Regions from separate parts of the Homo sapiens genome. Here region 2 is linked to region 1. Evidence: promoter capture Hi-C in 16 types of primary human blood cells and fetal thymus (Javierre and others, 2016). All regions are on one chromosome and are shown on one strand. The core of a region is centred on a gene start or on the middle of the fragment in contact, and the rest is flanking DNA. Distances in the headings are between cores, read along the strand shown.

Region 1 (5,569 bases), core at 1,293-3,792:
GCTGGGAGGGCGGGGCCAGACTTCCAAGCTCGGCTGCCCCCAGTTCTGGACAACTTGCCCTCTCCCACCCCACAACCACACGGTCCTGGGCCACATGCCTCTGCACAGTGGGGGTGCCAGGGGAGTGCACTGACCATTGCTGCCCCCCTTACACTCCCCCTGGATGACACCCAATTCCCAGCCTCTTGGCACTGGGACCCCAGTCTCTGCAGCCTGAGTGGGCTCACAGTGGAACTGCCTCAGGCGAACAGCACTCAGCTGGCGAGCACGGGATGGGGACCACAGGACACTAGCTGCCCGGACTCTGCTCTCGGTGTGTCCTGCGGGGGTCAGCCTGGCTGGGTGGGCACCAGACGCCCCTCGGAGGCAGACCCTGTACCCACACATCCATCTATTGCTCCCAGGTGCCAGGCCCTCCCGGAGAGCCAGGTCTGGCATCCCAGGCCCCTAGACGTTGTTTGTTTCGTTTTTTTGACACGGAGTCTTGCTCTGTCGCCCAGGCTGGAGTGCAACGGCGCGATCTCGGCTCACTGCAAGCTCCGCTTCCCGGGTTCATGCCATTCTCCTGCCTCAGCCTCCTGCGTAGCTGGGACTACAGGCACCGGCCACCACGCCCAGCTAATTGTATTTTTAATAGAGACGGCGTTTCACCGTGTTAGCCAGGATGGTCTCGATATCCTGACCTCGTGATCTGCCCGCCTTGGCCTCCCAAAGTGCTGGGATTACAGGCGTGAGCCACTGCGCCCGGCCTAGACGCTTTTTTCTTAAGGGATGGGGTCTCACTATGTGGGCCAGGCTTTCCTGGAACTCTTGGCTCAAGCGATACTCCCGCCTCAGCCTCTCAAGTAGCTGGGACCACAGGTGTTGCCCCTGTGTGCCCAGCCTGGGCCCCCTCTGAAAGTCCTGGAAACCCTCAATGCCCCAGGGCTAGGGAGTGGACAGGGAGTGCCTGGTCAGCTCACCTTGGAAAGCACTACCCAGTGCTGTCTGGTGGCTCAGAAAGAAGCTGGGGCCGAAGCCACACGCCTGCAGGCGCAGGGTGCTGAGTAAGGGGCAGGCGTGCAGGAGGGAGGCCAGGGACTGGCCACAGCCGTCCCCCAGGGGGTTCATGCTTAAGTCCAGCTCCTCCAAACTCTGTGGAAGACACAGGCTGGCAGTGAGCCCCCAGCAGTCCCACGGACAGGGTCCCCCTTGGGGCTTGGCTTGGCAGTCTCTTCCCCACCTTGCCTGGCATAGCCTATTACAGCCGGGCACTGGCTGGCTCTCCCAACTACCCTAGACCACCCAGGGACCTGCAGAATGGGAACCCCAACTCCCCGCTGTTGAGGGCCTGCTGCTCTCTGTGCCTATACCTGCAAGGTGGCTTGGCCTGGGAGCCCCATGGCAAGCTGGCGCAGGCCTTCGGGACCCAGGTGATTGGAGGAGAGGTCAAGGAGGGCCAGGCTGGGCATGGTGCCCAGGGCAGCCACCAGCTCAGCCACACACTTGTCCCCCAGCCGGTTCCCTGCCAGGCGCAGCTCCCGGAGTGCTGTGTGCAGCTTGAGGGCCCGCAGCAGGGGTGTAAGCTGGGCCTGGTCCAGGGCCAGGGAGCAGGCGCTGAACGAGAGGCCCAAGCCCTGGAGCTCCACGGCCTGCAGCACCTGTTGGTGCTCCCCTGCGGGAGGGATGTGATGTCACCAGGGTAAGGCCGGCCCTTTCTGCCCTCTGAATCCCAGAGGGCAAACCAGGCAGCCCCTTTTCAACAGCCCCAGGGGTCACCCACCAGACTTGCTGTAGAGCCCACTCGCACATGCCTGTGGGTCTAGCACTGTGAGGCCCTGGGGGCCGGGGTGGGTCTGCAGCACCCTGAGCTCCACCAGTCACTGCCAGATTCCACACCCCCCGGGACAAGCTTTCTGGGAAGCTTCCCCAGCAGCTCCCAGCCCATGCCAGGCCCTCCTCCTTGGGTTTGACTTTCCAGGCTTTCGGCTGCTTTTTGCCATCTCCCTGTCAGCAGATCATGGGGGCTGAGGGCTGTCCTCTCCCTTCCACCCACACATCCAAGTGCAGGACACAGCACCCACCAGGCTGGGGGAGGTGCACCCCAAAACACCCGAGGCCCAGGAATGAACCGGGCTGGTGGAGCCTGTGTGCCCAACCCCCTTGTACGACCTCACCCAGAAACTGCAGCTCTCCTGGCCCTCACCTTGCCCCAGGCTCTGGCAGGCCCTGCGGTAGCGGTCAGTCAACGGGGGCAGGTCCCACGAAGTCACCTCAGCCAACACCTGGAAGGCACCGTCATGAGCCACCTGGGGGCTCCCCCGGCTCACCTCATCATTGCTCTGCAGCCATGAGCCACCCGGGGGCTCCCGGTGCCTGAGGCCCTGGCTCCCCCTCCGCTCTGCGGCTCACCTCGTCATTGCTCTGCAGCACATCAGGGATGAGGTCCTGTGGGGCCAGCAGGGCCCCCTCTTTCCGTAGGGTGAGCCTGGGCAGCAGCCCGCAGGTCTGGTAGTAGCGCTGGGCCGCCTGCTCGGCCAGCCAGGCCACAGAGTGGGTGTCACTGCTGCAGGGACAGAGGCGCTGCTGCTGCTGCCTGCACACAGCCGGGGTAATGCCCCAGGGACCCGCCATCCCTGCCCAGGGCCAGAAGCCCCCTCAGCTGCTTCTCCCATTCCCAGGTAGCCGGCCCCTCCTCTCCCTGCAGCCCAGCACACCACCAGCCCCTCTGCTATTCCTGGGGGCCACAGGATCCTCCTGGAACACACCAGGGAGCCCTCGTCACACGCCCCACCCTGACATGCAAACACGAGCACCCTGGCATGGAGCTGCACAGGTGGGCTGCGGGGTAGGGCAGGCGATGCCTCACCTGTGTGGGACAGGGATGAGGAAGAGATGATCCTGAACTTGAACTCGAACCCGGATGGGAGGGGGCGGGGCCGGACCCTGGCAGGTGAAGGCAGCAGGGCTGAGTCAGGAGCCACAGTGGGCTCCACCCTACACCTGCCTGCCCGGAGTGGGGAGAGGGCTCTGCTCCAGGTCTGCATACCCACCAAGGGCTGGCCTGCCGCAGAGCTGTCCCCACTGGGCTCTGAGACCCTGGGGGTGCTGGGGCTCCCTGGAGGTTCTGAAGCCAGGCTGCTGGGCCCTGCGTTAACTGGCGCACTGCAACTCTGCATGCAGGTCAGGCGGACCTGCTTGGCTCGGGCACGGGGCCTGCTCTCCTCACTGTCCGACCCAGAGGTACTACTGGGCCTGCGGTTGTCTCCAGTGCCCCGGGGGCGGGGCCGGCGGCTGCGGGTCAGGGGCATGTCCAGCTCCAGCCAGTCCCCGGCCAGGCACTCCTCCTCCGGGATGAGCGCTGCCTGGGGGGCAAGGGCTTTGCTGTGGCCCCGCGGTGGGCCAGGCCCCAGCCGGCTCTGAGCACTGCCCACACCCCGGATGGCTGCCTGGTAGGCTGCCCGGCTGGTGCTGGCTGTGGCTGCTTCCCTGTTGCTGGCGGGGCCAGGCGTCCAGGCTGCCACCCGTTGTGCTGTGGCCGAGCACCGAGGCCTCTTCTGGGACGGCCGTGCGGGGCCTGCGCTGTCCTCGCCTTCTGAGCTGCTGCTGCTGCTGGCTGGCCCATGCCTGCTCCTCCGAGGCCTGGCCATGGCTGGTGCCGCCTGCCCTGGGGAGACCCTGACATGGGCCTGAGAGGCCTCTGGGAGTCTAGTGCTATTAGAGGGGGGTTCTGGGCAGGGGCTCAAAGGAGGAGAGGTCTCGGGGTCAAACAGAAGGCTGCTTGGGGTGTGGAAGGCCTGGGAGCTGTGGGGATCTGTGGGAGAGAGAATGCGTGTTGAGGCAGGGGCCCGGCACCTCCCGCTCCACCTGTGATGGAGCATCTCCCGAAATCAGGGCCCGGGGACTCTCAGCGTAGGCACAGCAACCCCAGGGACAAGGGACGCCCTGCTTGCCTTGGCCCGAGGCAGCCGCCTGGAGCAGCATCTCCATGGCCCTGGCCTTCTGCCGCGTCTCCAGGTCCAGGTCCCTGCGGTACAGCTTCACCCACTGCTGCAGCGTCTCCAGCGGGCTGAGGCCCTGTGTGGCATCAGTTGAGCAGGGGCACAGCAGCCCCCATAACCTCGCCCTTGCCCTCTGCCCCACCAGGCTCACCTTTCGAGTGCGGAGGGTGACGGACGCCCCCCGTTCAAGCAGCAGCTCAGCCACCTCGAAGTGGCCACAGTTGAGGGCATCGTGGAGGGGGGTGATGCCTTCGCAGCCCTGGCCACCTGGGTCGTCCACTGCGGCCCCGTGGTCCAGCAGGAAGCGGACAATTTCTGCAGACCAGGAGACGTAAGCCCAGCTCCCGATGCCCCGCCAGGACTGACTCTTCGCCCCACGTGTCCACCAAGGTGCGCCAGGCTCCTTCTGTCCCTTGCTCACCTAGATGCCCGTAGTTGCAGGCCTCGTGCAGAGGTGTCCAGCCACAGTAGTCCCGAGGGTTAAGGGGGTGGCCCTGTGACCAAGGACAGGAAGGAGCCTGGCCCTGTGTACCTCACAGCCTGGCCCCAGCCCCGTGAGCTCTGCAGCCTAAGCTGAGCCCAGGGCCTCAGTCTTAGAGCCCAGAGCAAGTCCGTGGCCCTGCCCTCTCCTCCTCCGGCCTAGGTGTCACCAGTGAAGGACATGCTTCCCCCTGAGACAGGTGGACCAGCCACAGCATATCCTCCGCCTCTGTGCCTGCCCGGTCCCCTTGTGGGGAGACAGTGCACCTGGTCGCAGGGGCATGAGGCAGGCGGGGCGGGAAGGTGCCCAGATCTCAGCCCATGGGCTAGCCCCCATCCTGGCCAGGCTGACCAACTTAGCTGTAACACAGATGCATACCACACAGCAGGTACCCCATTTTTTTTTTGAGACCAGCCAGGCTGGTCTCAAGCTCCTGACCTCGTGATCTGCCCACCTTGGCCTCCCAAAGTGCTGGGATTACAGGTATGAACCACCGCGCCCAGCCTGGGCACCCCATTTTTTTGTGTTTTTTTTTGAGACAGAGTCTCGCTCTGTCACCCAGGCTGGAGTGCAGCGGCGCAATCTCATCTCACCGCAACCTCCGCCTCCCAGGTTCAAGCGATTCTCCTGCCTCAGCCTCCCGAGTAGCTGGGACTACAGGTATGTGCCACCATACCCAGCTAATATTTTTGTATTTTTAGTAGAGACAGGGTTTCACCATGTTAGCCAGACTGGTCTCAAACTCCTGACCTCAGGCAATCCGCCCGCCTCAGCCTCCCAAAGTGCTAGGATTATAGACATAAGCCACTGTACCCGGCCTGTGGCTTTTCTTCTGAGACAGGGTCTTGCTCTGTCACACAGGTTGGAGTGCAGTGGCAAGATCATGGCTCACTGCAGCCTCCACCTCCTAGGCTCAAGCAACCCTCCCACCTCAACCTCCAAAGCAGCTGAGACTACAGGCACACGCCATCACATCCACCTAATTTTTAAATTTCTTGGAGACAAGGTCTTGCCAGGGTGCCCAGGCTGGTCTCGAACTCCTGGGCTCATGTGATCTGCCTGCCTTGGCATCCCAAAGTGCTGGGATTACAGGCATAAGCCACCCCGT
Region 2 (5,362 bases), core at 886-3,385, 270 kb before region 1:
CCCAGCACTTTGGGAGGCTGAGGTGGGTGGATCACCTGAGGTCAGGAGTTCGAGACCAGCCTGGCCAATGTGGTGAAACCCCATCTCTACTAAAAATACAAAAATTAGCCAGGTATGGTGGCCCGTTTCTGTAGTCCCAGCTCCTGGGGAGGCTGAGGCAGGAGAATCACTTAAACCCGGAAGGCGGAGGTTGTAGTGAGCCGAGATCCTGCCATTGTACTCCAGCCTGGGCGACAAAAGCGAAACTCCGTGTCAAAAAGAAAGGAGAGAGAGAGAAATGTTGAAATCTATACTGCAATTTAGATTGGTCTATTGTTCCTTGCATTTTTATTAGTTTTGGCTTTGTGTATTTTGAAGCTCTGTTACCAGGTAAAAATGTTTAGGATACTTAATATTTCTGAAATCTAGTTTGTCTAATGTGACTCCAGCTTTCTTGTAACTAATGCCAGCCATGTTTTTCTTTGCCCATCCTTTTGCTTTTAACCTCGTAGTGTTAACATATTTAATCTTTCCTGTAGTTTCTCAAACATATGAAATAGTTTTAATAACTAATGTCTGTGTCTCTGAACTCTTTCCTTTGTGTTATTTCTGGGTCAGTTTGTATTGGTTGGTTCATCCTCACAATGGGTTGGATTTTCTTGCTTCTTTGTACGCCTGGTAATTTTTTTTTTTTTTTTTTTTGAGACGGAGTCTCGCTTTGTCGCCCAGGCTGGAGTGCAGTGGTGCGATCTTGGCTCACTGCAAGCTCCGCCTCCCGGGTTCACGCCATTCTCCTGCCTCAGCCTCCTGAGTAGCTGGGACTACAGGGGCCCGCCACCACACCCCGTCTAATTTATTGTATTTTTTAGTAGAGACAGGGTTTCACCGTGTTAGCCAGGATGGTCTTGATCTCCTGAGCTCATGATCCACCCGCCTCGGCCTCCCAAAGTGCTGGGATTACAGGCGTGAGCCACCGCGCCCGGCCCACGCCTGGTAATTTTTGATTGGATGCCAGGCGTTGCTTTTGCTTGGTGTTGCTGGATATTTTTGTGTTTCTGTTAGTATTCATGAGCTTTGTGCTGGGAGCTGGCTAAGTTACTAGGGAACAGTTTGATCTTGTCAGACCTTTCTTTTAGCTTTGTTAGGTGAGACCAGAATGACATTTAGTCTAGGACTGATTTGGTTGTTTACTGAGGTGGAATCCTGAGCTCTGCCTGGTGCCCCATGAGTCATGACGCTTTCCACACTTTCCACTCCGGCTGCTGGGAGCAGGCCCCATTCCTGGACCTGTGGAAGCCCTGGATGTTGCTTCTCCTAATCCCTTTGTGTGGCTCTTTCTGCAGCTTTGGACAGTTTGTTCTCCTACAAGGCATTTGTCTTAGTTTTCTAATGCTGATGCAATGCATTATCACAAACTTAGTGCCTTAAGCAACACAAATTTATTACCATAAAGTTTTTGGAGTCAGAAGTCTACCAAGGGTCCCACCGGCTAGAACCCAGGCACCAGACAAATTTATTACCATAAAGTTCTTGGAGTCAGAAGTCTACCAAGGGTCCCACCGGCTAGAACCCAGGCACCAGACAAATTTATTACCATAAAGTTCTTGGAGTCAGAAGTCTACCAAGGGTCCCACTGGCTAGAACCCAGGCACCAGACAAATTTATTACCATAAAGTTCTTGGAGTCAGAAGTCTACAAGGGTCCCACCGGCTAGAACCCAGGCACCAGACAAATTTATTACCATAAAGTTTTTGGAGTCAGAAGTCTACCAAGTCTCACCAGCCAGAACCCAGGCGCCGGGGGCTGCTTCCCTTCCTGGTGCCCCTGGGAAGGATTGCTTCTGCTGTCTCAGGTTCCTGGCAGAATTTGGTTCTTTGCATCTGTAGGACGGAAGCTCCTGTTTTCTTGTCAGCCGCCAGCTGAGGGCCATTCGCAGCTTCTCCAGGCCACCTGCATTCCTTGTCTCAGAGCCTCCCTCCTGCATCCTCCAAGCCAGCAGTTGTGGGGTGAGTCCTTCTCACGCTTCAAATTTCTCCTCCCCGCTCTTCTGTCTCTTCTCTTTGACGCACCTGGGAAAGCTTCTGTGCTTTTAAGGACTCATGTGATTAGTTTGGTCTCACCCAGGTAATCCAGGATAATCTCCCTGTCTCAGGGCCTGTACCCTTAATCTCATCTACTGAATCCCCTTTGCTGTGTAAGGGTTCATACACACAGGTTCTGGGGATTAGGGTGTGGGAAGCTTTGGGGCTATTATTCTGCTGACCAGTAACTTGCTGAGTGCCCAGGGAACCCGCTGCAGGTCTCTAAAGTTCTCTCTGGGCAGCGCTTTCTCTGGTATGAGAGACTGCAGACTCCGGCCGCCTTGGTATCGGCCGGCACTCCCCGTTCTGTCTCATCAGCTTAGGTGTTTTGCTGGGCCCTAGGACTGGGTCCTCTCTCCAGGCAGTGAGCTGGGCTCTTAGGGCTCCGCCTCATTTCCTACCTCTCAGGCCGCACAGTCCTTCATTTTCTGATGTCCATTGTCCTGAGAAACAGTGGTTTCTTGTGTCTCGTCCAGTTTTTTAGTTGTCCTGTGATTCTCGCCTGGGCCGGGAGCAGGCAAGTCCAAGTCCATGTGCCCATTTGTTTTGTTAGCTCCTGTTTGAGTTGGGTGAGCGTGGCTGCTGCACTGGAAGGGGTGCTGCACGGTCGTGGACTGGCGTTGGTTCCGCCCGTTTCTTCCTGGACGACGGAGCTGGGCAGTGCTGGCTACCCGCAGGGCACAGCCTCTGGTCCCAGAGCCCGGCCACTCAGCCCAGCTTCTCCGCCTCCCAGCTCAGCTCAGGCCTGGGAACTCTGGCTTGTGATGCTCCACGTCAGGCGTGCCCTTGTCTCTGGGAAGTATGTGCTGTGGGCGCTTTCACAGGTTTTCTGCCCTGCCTGGGAGCCACTGCCCTCTTCAGCTCTTAACTCTTCCACAGCTTGGGATCTTTATGGAATATGTTTTTTTGTTTTTCTTTTCTTTTTTTTTTTTTTTTTTAAGACAGAGTCTCACTCTGTCGCCCAGGCTGGAGTGCAGTGGCACGATCTCAGCTCACTGCGACCTCCACCTCCCGGGTGCAAGTGATTCTTCTGCCTCAGCCTCCTGAGTAGCTGGGATTACAGGCACGCGCCACCACACCCAGCTAATTTCTGTATTTTTTTAGTACAGACTGGATTTTACCATGTTAGCCAGGCTGGTCTTGAAATCCTGACCTCAGATGATCCGCCCGCCTCAGCATCCCAAAGTGCTGGGATTACAGATATGAGCCACTGCGCCCGGCCCTGTTTTTCTTTTCTTTTTTTTTGAGACAGGGCTCGCTCTGTTGCCCAGGCTGGAGTGTAGTGCAGTGGTGCAATCTCGGTTCACTGTAACCTCCGCCTACCAGGTTCAAGCAATTCTCCCACCTCAGCCTCCTGAGTAGCTGGGATTACAGGCATGAGCCACCAGACTGGCTAATTTTTTTGTATTTTTAGTAGAGATGGTGTGTCACCATGTTGGCCAGGCTGGTCTCAAACTCCTGGCCTCAAGTGGTCCACCTGCCTCAGCCTCCCAAAGTGCTGGAATTACAGGCATGAGCCACTGCACCCGGCCCATGATGTCTTTTTTCTTTCTTTCTTTTGTTTTTTTTTTTCTCTGAGACAGAGTCTCACTCTGTCGCTCAGGCTGCAGTGCAGTGGTGTGTCCTTGGCTCACTACAACCTCCGCTTCCCAGGTTCAAGTGATTCTCATGCCTCAGCTCCCTGAGTAGCTAGGACTAAAGGTGCCTGCCACCACGACCGGCTAATTTTTGTGTTTTTAGTAGAGACAGAGTTTCATCATATTGGCCAGGCTGGTCTCGAACTCCTGACCTCAAACAATCCACCCACCTTGGCCTCCCAAAGTGCTGGATTACAGGCATGAGCCATCGCTCTTGGCCAAGATTTCTATGATTTCTTACTTCGCCTCCAACCCATGTGTGCACAGCGCAGGGAGGTGTCCTGGCTGGTCAGGGATGGGTCATGGTGTCTCTCCTTCATTTTTCTCTGGAGTATGTTAGCAAGGAATGGTGGATGGGAGGTGATCAAGGGAATTAAGGGGCTGGTGGGAGACTCAGAGAACAGAGAATGTGAGTGTTAGGATGCTGGCTGCCATGCTTATGGTGGGCCTGCAGCCCCTCTGATGACGTAGGTCCTCAGAAAGCGTGACACAAGACTTGAATGTGTGTCCGTGGTGAAGAGGCAGAGGGAACTTGGACGCTTCCTGGACTCGATTCTTAGGGACCATTGTTGCATGCAGTGGCGCATGGCATGTGATGTGTGAAAGCTGTGGTGCCCGTGCTCAGTTCCTCACAGTGTGGAGGAGGATGCTGTAGGTGGAGGTGCATCCACTCCTGCTGGGGCTGATGGTGACGAGGTGACACTGTGGGCCAGCTGTGGACAAGCCTGTGCAGGCCAGTGAGGTGCTGGTAGGGACTGATGGGTGCTCAGGGATGGAGGAGAGCTGGAAACTGTTGAGGATCATGATGCCTTTTGCCCTCCCTGAGTGGCTCAAAGAAAATGTGACGGAGATATTTCCCCCAGAATAAATTCATTTAAATTGTGTATTTTACATGGAAATGGTAATTGCCTGTGAACTCAGATATCGTAGAGGCTTATGAATTAAATCTTGTGATTTTGGTTATTCCAGATGGGAGAAGAAGTTGTCCATGTTCACACTGGGTGAAGGAAGCTGAAACCACAGACATGACTGAGTCCTCCATGAAGAGTGAGTGCATGGGGATTGGGAGTGGCCGGGTGTGAGGCCTCTCTTGCCTCTGGGTGGTCAGGGCAGGCCAAGGCTCTTACCAGCTCCAATGGTGCCTAGAGTTTCCACCCTATACTCGGGAGCCTGAGTGGGTTCTGGGCAGGTTGGGTGATGTGGCAGGTGTAGACTTCTCCCACACGAGCCTTCAGTTTGGGACTCCAGAAAAGCACATGGCATCCAGGATGTGATTTGAAGGTTTGTTTTACTTTTTTTTTTTTTTTTTTAAGACAGGGTCGGCTGGGCACAGTGGCTCACGCCTGTAATCCCAGCACTTTGGGAGGCCAAGGCAGGCGGATCACTTGAGGTCAGGAGTTTGAGACCAGCCTGACCAACATGGTGAAACCCCGTCTCTCCTAAAAATACAAAAATTAGCCAGGTGTGGTGGCAGTTGCCTGTAGTCCCAGCTACTCGGGAGGCTGAGACAGGAGAATCGCTTGAACTCGGGAGGCGGAGGTTGCAGTGAGCCGAGATCGTGCCACTGCACTCCAGTCTGGGCGATGGAGTGAGACTCGGTCCCCCCAAAAAAAAAAAAAAAAAGACAGGGTCTCCCACTATCACCCAGGGTGGAGTGCAGTGGTG

The links. Contacts are between HindIII fragments. The CHiCAGO score rates a contact against its expected background, and 5 or more counts as called.
Region 2: a contact is called between a fragment that was not itself captured here and the fragment with the promoter of TONSL-AS1 in region 1, in 1 of 17 cell types (M1 macrophages). The highest score is 5.0, in M1 macrophages.

Annotation. Positions count from the first base shown.
Region 1 is chr8:144,432,626-144,438,194 of GRCh38, forward strand. It overlaps TONSL-AS1 (TONSL antisense RNA 1), which reads left to right and starts at 2,543. Exons shown (of 6, transcript NR_109770.1): 1 at 2,543-2,815; 2 at 4,126-4,370; 3 at 5,074-5,121. It overlaps TONSL (tonsoku like, DNA repair protein), which reads right to left. Exons shown (of 26, transcript NM_013432.5): 14 at 4,402-4,474; 15 at 4,132-4,295; 16 at 3,933-4,056; 17 at 3,033-3,793; 18 at 2,849-2,925; 19 at 2,392-2,545; 20 at 2,186-2,264; 21 at 1,353-1,654; 22 at 963-1,134. MIR6893 (microRNA 6893) reads right to left here and starts at 2,994; the gene lies at 2,926-2,994. The HindIII fragment of the contact is 6,013 bases long and covers 1,902-5,569 here.
Region 2 is chr8:144,159,105-144,164,466 of GRCh38, forward strand. It overlaps MROH1 (maestro heat like repeat family member 1), which reads left to right. Exons shown (of 44, transcript NM_032450.3): 2 at 1,866-1,985; 3 at 4,667-4,744. The coding sequence starts at 4,723. Among named protein-coding and RNA genes, the nearest start is that of MROH1, 14 kb to the left of the region's middle. The HindIII fragment of the contact is 161 bases long and covers 2,056-2,216 here.